Linked DNA regions of Homo sapiens: region 1 is linked to region 2. Evidence: promoter capture Hi-C in 16 types of primary human blood cells and fetal thymus (Javierre and others, 2016). All regions are on one chromosome and are shown on one strand. Each heading gives the region's core, a stretch centred on a gene start or on the middle of the fragment in contact. The rest is flanking DNA. Distances are from core to core; before and after follow the strand shown.

Region 1 (3,167 bases), core at 334-2,833, 1.1 Mb after region 2:
TGAGGCCCGGGGCTCTGAGGGCGGGCTTCCTCCCCAGAGCTGTGCACTCACAGCGGGTTCCAGCGCTCGGGCAGGCGGCGGTGCAGTGAGATGCGGTCGCTGAGGTAGATGTTAATCTGGTGCAGCCGCACGCTCTCCTCCTGCAGCCGCAGCTCCTCGCCCTGCAGCTGCAGCCGCACCGCCTCGCCCCGCGCGCCCAGCGCGTTCGCCGGCACCGGCGGCCGCGGCATGACCGGCTCGCGCCGCCCGGGGCGCGGGGTGCGCGGGGGTCCCGGCTCGGCAGCCCCGGCCCCGGCCCCACGCTGCGCCCGCAGCACCGAGCCCAGCCCGGCCAACGCCAGTAGCGCCAGGAGCACCAACAGCGCCTCCCGGCCGCGCCGCAGTTCCCGCGGGCAGCGCCGCCGCGCCGTGCGCCCCCACATGCGCCCGCCAACTGCAGCCAGCGATCTGCGCGCCCCAAGGCGGCGGTGGAGGCCAGGACCCGGATCCCGGAACCGCCGTGCCGCCCCGCCCCCGGCCCGCCCCACCTGCGCGCCGCCCCCTTTCCGTCCAGCCCCGCGCCAGCCCAAGCGCAGCCCCCGGGGTGGCTCATTTCGGCAGGGTCTTCAAGTGGGCTGGCTGAGACTTGCATCTTCCTTCTTGGGCTATGGTGCATTATTAAAGAGATAGTGGTGGTAAAACCCTTAGCGCCTGGCATATTGTAGGCGCTAAGTGTTGGCTGAATACACCCTGCAGGGTGTTATGAATTCTACTGCCATTATCTCATCTGATCTTTACACAGTCCAATAAAACAACCATCAACTAGGATTACGAGCTCCCTTTTACAGATGAGGAGATGGAGGTGCGATGAGATCAACAGACACCACGCTGCCCCACTGACTTCTGCAGGCCCAGCCTCTGCCATACTCTTTGGAGTCCTTGAATAGCAAACCCTCGCCTGGCTCGCCTCGTGATAGCTCTGTGACCTCTGAGGCTAGGAGCAAAAGGCCATGAAGGCTGTACATGATAGTTCACACCTGTAATCCCAGGCCGAGATAGGAGGATCACTTGAAGCCAGGAGCTTAAAACGAGACTGGTCAACATAGCAAGACTCCCATCTCTACAGAAAAATTTCAGAATTAGCCATGCATGGTGGCACGTGCCTATAGTGCCAGCTACTCAGGATGCTGAAGCAGGAGGATTGTGTGAGCCCAGGAATTGGAGGTTACCGTGAACTATGCGCCACTGCGCTGCAGCCTGGATGACAAAGCGAGATCCTGTTTCTATTAAACAACAACCAAAAAAGGCCATGAAGCTGCCGCCCTGTTCATGAGATCACTGCTGTGGGAGCCTTGAGCTGCCAGGGACGAAGTAAGTCTAATGGAGTAGACAAATATTAAAAAGATAATTAGAATTGTGTTAAGTATTTTGAAGAAGAATTACAGGGCGCTAAAAGGGCTTAGAATAGTAGAACTTGATCTAGTTTGGGGGTTTTGGAAAGCTTCTCTGATGAAGTAATGTCTACACAGATATCTGAATGTAAAAGTGATAGCAGAGATTTCAAATCATATCTTAAATTAATCTGGAACTCCCTCTGCTGGTGTCTAGCTCAGGGAAAAGAATCATTCTGTATCCCCTGTAGAAGGATAGAGTGTAAGCTCTATTTGTTGTTGTTTGTTTTACCATGGGAAGTTGGTCCAAAGCTTTTTATCAAATATTCTCAAGGAGACCAGAAGCCCAGAAAGTTTAAAAAGCACAAATCTGGTCCAATTATCTCATTGATAAATGCGGGGTCTGAGACACAGGGTGGGGAGAGGACCTTGAACTTGGCGGCTCAGGTAGAGGTAGAATCTGACTTGCTGTTGTCTTCATACAGCCTTTGGCTACTGGTATCCCCAGAGGAAATCTCCCTCAGGTTGCAGGAGGGGGGTGGGTTTTGGGATGAACCATGCAAAGCAGCTCCCACTCAGGACAACCTGCTGCTAATATTAGACTAGAGGGAAGTGGCTCTTCCCACAGTGCTCAGGGCCCCGCCTGCTTCCCACGCAGAATGGAGGCTGCTGGTTAATGCCAGAAGGCGGTTGTGTTAGGTAGGTCTGGACCTGAGCCCTTTGGCCTCTGTTCAGACACCCAACACATTTAAGATCTGCGGTCAGATTAGAAAACAGACAAGGATTACAATTCATAATGTCTTGGATCCGCTTGCCAAATTGGAATGCTTCTCAATAGAGGTTCAGATACAGAGAAAAGAGAAATGCAATTAGGCCTTACAAGACATGGACTTAAGCCCCAGGTAACAGATAAAAGCTATTGTTTACTGAGCACACACTGTGTGCTGTAAACTGCTGGACTTTCTTTTTCATGTACTTTCTCATTTCACCCTATGACAACCTTGCAAGGTTGACAGATGAGAATATGTAGGCTCAAGAAGTGAAGCAACTTGCCCAAGGTTACACAACATGCAAGCGGTAGAGGGAGGATTTGTATCTGGGTCTCCTGACTCACAGTCCAGGATTTCCCACCACACCACTCACTGTTGGGCAGGCTGCAATGAGATGCAAAGGCAGCTTAGCTTAGGAGGTCGGAACACAACCTTGGAGCCCACTTGCCTGAGCTCAACCCAGCCCCATCACGAATTGCAGTGTGACCTCAGGCAAGTTGCTTTACTTATCTCGGCTCAATTTGCTCATCTATTAAATGGTGATCTAATGATAGCACCACCTGAACAGGGTTGTTGAGAAGATTGAGTGATACAGTCTGCACAGTCAGCCTCCCGGGGCACAAAACAGAGTGGAGAGAGTGTCAGTAAGGCAAAGGGAAGATGTCCAGCACCTTGCTGAGTGAAGTATGATATTTAGACCAGAAGCATTGGTACCACCTGGGAGCTTGTTGGAAATCTAGCATCTTTTCAACAGAGGTAAAGCCCTTGGGTTTATTGCTATTTTTAGGGGGCTTATCTGTTCACTAACAGTACCATGTTATGTCATCGGCTGCTCACCAACAAGTAGATATCTCTAGAAGATGCTTTTAATTTGTCATATTAGCTCTCTTCATAGGAGTTATTACATTCCTTTTAGAGTTTAATATGATCTATGGTAGATGTGGTATTTCAAATATTAGTGGGGAACATGTGCCTAATTCAAGTAATAATTGGGACAACTTGATAACCATTTGGAAAAAATTCAAAT
Region 2 (3,233 bases), core at 376-2,875:
CGTACGGTTTAAAAGCTCCCCCCCAAGATGTCAATTATAAGGAGAAAAATAAGACCTTTACATTGGAGAATCCCAGCAGACACTCTCTACCAAGTGATCAAGATTAACCTCACGAGCAATAAGTCATATATATCAGCTATGCTCATATGATGAACTGAGAAGGGCACACACACTTTTGTGTTCTTAACAAAAATGTATAACCTTAATCTAATCATGAGAGAACACTGGACAAACCCCATTTGAGGGGCACTCTACAAAATAACTGACCAGCATTCTTCAAAAGTGTAAAGATCAGAAAGAGTATAAAGACAGAAAAAGACTATCAGTGTAAAGACAGGAAAAGACAGAGGAACTGTCACAGACTGGAGGAGACCAAGGACCCAAGACAACTAACTGCAATGTCGGGTCTTAGAGTGGATCCTAGAATAGAAAAAGGACATTAATACAGGAAAAAAAATCACAAGTTAGTAATTCAGTTAATAGTATTATACTAATATTAACTTCTTGCTTTTGATAATTGCGCTATGGTATGTAAAAAATTATTAATGGAGGCAATAGGGAACTCTGTATTACTTTTGAAACTTTTCTGTAATTTTAAAATTATTTCAAAATAAAAAAGTTTTTTAGTATAAGAGGATGTTTCACGTAAGACAGGTAAAAACATTTAGAAGTCAAAGAACTGCCATCGTATTCACTGCATTAATACTTGGAGAGAGGGGTGCCAGGACTGTGCCAGGTGCTTTACAAACTTTATCATGTAGTGCTTACAACTAATATGAGATGGGTACCATAATACTCATGTTTCCCAGTAAGTTACTTAGGAGGTTATTAATAAGTGAAAGACCCCATTTCTCAGGAAACCCAGCCCCCAAAAGTGACGAACACCTTCCATCGGCCCAGAGCTCCCACTTTTCAGGATACTAGTGGCGCCCGATTTCTTCCGGCCCGCCGCTTAATGTTTCTGACTTATGGAAGAGATACCGAATTTGGAGAGAAAAGTCAAAGTAAAGTCTCCTCTCTGAACCTCGGTTAGCTAAAAGGAGGGAGCCAAGGTGTGGGACCTTCTGCCAACCACCTCTGGGTTTGGCGAGCAGGGGCTTCCGGCCTCTCGCTCCCAGTCCTCCGAGCCTCACTACCATCGAGCGTCGCGTCATTCCTCGCAGTGTCACCCACAGCACACCTGGGCCACACACACCAAACGCCCCCACCAGCGAACGGATGCGCGGGTCTGTCCCGGGACCCAGACGCCAGCGACCCTGGCGACCCGGGGCCTACAGCGCGCCAGAGACAGGACGCGCGCCGGAAACTTTTCCACCCCGCGACCCCGGGAGGCCGTCCTGCTCGCATCGTCTGCGGCCTCCCTATACCAGCTTCCAATAAAGCTTCCAAAAACGAAACCAAGCGAGGCTCCGCCACTTCTGAAAAACAGGAGGAGCCACCATGGCGCTCGCACTTCGGATCCAATGCCCTACTTGCCGCCCAGCGCCTCTTGCGCGCGCCACACGGGCGCCAGGCCCACCAAGCCTGTGAGGGCCCGACGCCCCCAAAGGCGGCCTCCAGAGAGCCCCTTACCTCCCGCCGGGGCGCTCGAGGCCGGTCGGTGGGCACGGCGCAGGCGCAGGAGCGACGGGGCGGGGCATCACGAGGGGTGGGCAGGGTTGGGCCCCGCCCCCGCCCCCGCCCCCGCCCCGCAGGGCCCCCAGGCCGGGCGCTGGGGGCGCACAGGTGAGTACAAATGCGGACGCTGCTGAGAACAGCGAAAGCCTTTTTCAAAAGTGATATTGATTTACGTTATGGGGTTGTGACTCGAGCCAAGAGGAGAGAGACGCACAAACGCTCTTTAGGTCTGCTTGTTGTGTTTAAGACAATTCATGCTTGTATGGCCGACTGCATTTCGCAGTTTTCCTGTCCGTTTTCCTCTGTTCTTCCTAGAATTTTATTTGCGGGTTGGGCATGTATTCTTAGCTCTGTTTTGAAACTGAAGCTCAGAAAGGTGGTGCCTCCCCATCCCGTCCCCAAAAGCCCTGTGAAGTGGACAGGGCAGGAGTGCCATCTTAATTGCAACAGGTGTAAAAATTAAAGCTCAGCAAATTGTGGTTTCCTCCAAAAACTGGTGGAGGGCTTAAGGCAAACGTCTTTATCCCGATTTTATAGATTATGACTCTGGGGTTTAACAAAGAGTTTTAAGTGACTCACTCCAGTTCAGCCAGCTTATGGCAGAGCTGGAACTCCAACTGGGTGTCCTAATTTCCTTCCCAAGTTATTCCAGTTAGACCAGCTGCAACCACATGAACAAGCAGGTGGCCGGCTTTGAAGCCTTGTCCAAGTCACAGGTCCTCCTCTCTTCATGGCCTAACTTCCAGATCCAGCCCTTTTAAAAAGATGTCTGTGAATATTCAGATGACGTGCTTAGAATGTATTCACTAATGGCATTGTCTCAGAAGTGATCAGGATGTTCAAACCACAGTTAAGGAAACTGAGTTCTTAGGGTCTTCCAGTAGAGTAGGAGGTAAACAGGGAAGATTAGGGGCCTGTAGATCCTTTAAAAAGCCTTGAAAGACAATTTCTAAAACAAAGCACCAAATCTACCAAGCAATTTGGATTTTCTTTGGGGACATAATGTATACTGATATTTGTTTTACAATGAGCTCCAGAATGTATTTATCAAATTTTGATTCTAAGGAGAAAAATTAAAGTATTAGGCAATACTGTGAGAAAATGTTTTTTATGCAAGGATCAGTGAAATAAGATCTTTTGAAATAAAAGATCATTTGTGTTAAGTTCTGAAAAAGCTTCCTCAGGTACAAAATCAGGAGGTGTGGTACTCAAAGATTCTAAATTTGGACCTGGACTTCTAAGTTGTTATATGTATGTTTGCTGTAAGTTAGGTGTGTCAAAGTAGTAGGATAAACATTTTTTTTTTTTTTTTTTTTTTAGACAGAGTCTTGCTCTTTCGCCCAGGCTGGAGTGCAGTGGCATGATCTCAGCTCACTGCAACCTCCACCTCCCAGATTCAAGCGATTATCCTGTGTCAGCCTCCTGAGTAGCTGGGACTACAGGCGTGTGCCAACATGCCCGGCTAATTTTTTGTATTTTTAATAGAGACAGAGTTTCACCATGTTAGCCAGGATGGTCTTGATCTCCTGACCTCGTGATCCGCCCGCCTCGGCCTCCCAAAGTACTGGGATTACAGGTGTGAGCCACCATGCCCGACCAAAACCTTTTAATCTAAC

Evidence for each region. The method cuts DNA at HindIII sites, captures the fragments that hold promoters and counts their contacts. A CHiCAGO score of 5 or more calls a contact.
Region 1: a fragment that was not itself captured here is called in contact with the fragment with the promoter of STX17 in region 2 in 1 of 17 cell types (non-activated CD4 T cells); the score reaches 5.1 in non-activated CD4 T cells.

The regions. Positions count from the first base shown.
Region 1 is chr9:98,804,954-98,808,120 of GRCh38, reverse strand. It overlaps GALNT12 (polypeptide N-acetylgalactosaminyltransferase 12), which reads right to left and starts at 451. Exons shown (of 10, transcript NM_024642.5): 1 at 52-451. The coding sequence starts at 422. It overlaps LOC124902229 (a long non-coding RNA gene), which reads left to right and starts at 541. Exons shown (of 2, transcript XR_007061689.1): 1 at 541-1,350. RefSeq lists silencers at 310-379, 480-569. The HindIII fragment of the contact is 202 bases long and covers 1,483-1,684 here.
Region 2 is chr9:99,905,046-99,908,278 of GRCh38, reverse strand. It overlaps STX17 (syntaxin 17), which reads right to left and starts at 1,625. Exons shown (of 8, transcript NM_017919.3): 1 at 1,573-1,625. STX17-DT (STX17 divergent transcript) reads left to right here and starts at 1,678. Exons shown (of 3, transcript NR_038853.1): 1 at 1,678-1,725. RefSeq lists an enhancer at 1,087-1,326 and a silencer at 1,487-1,886. The HindIII fragment of the contact is 1,410 bases long and covers 1,385-2,794 here.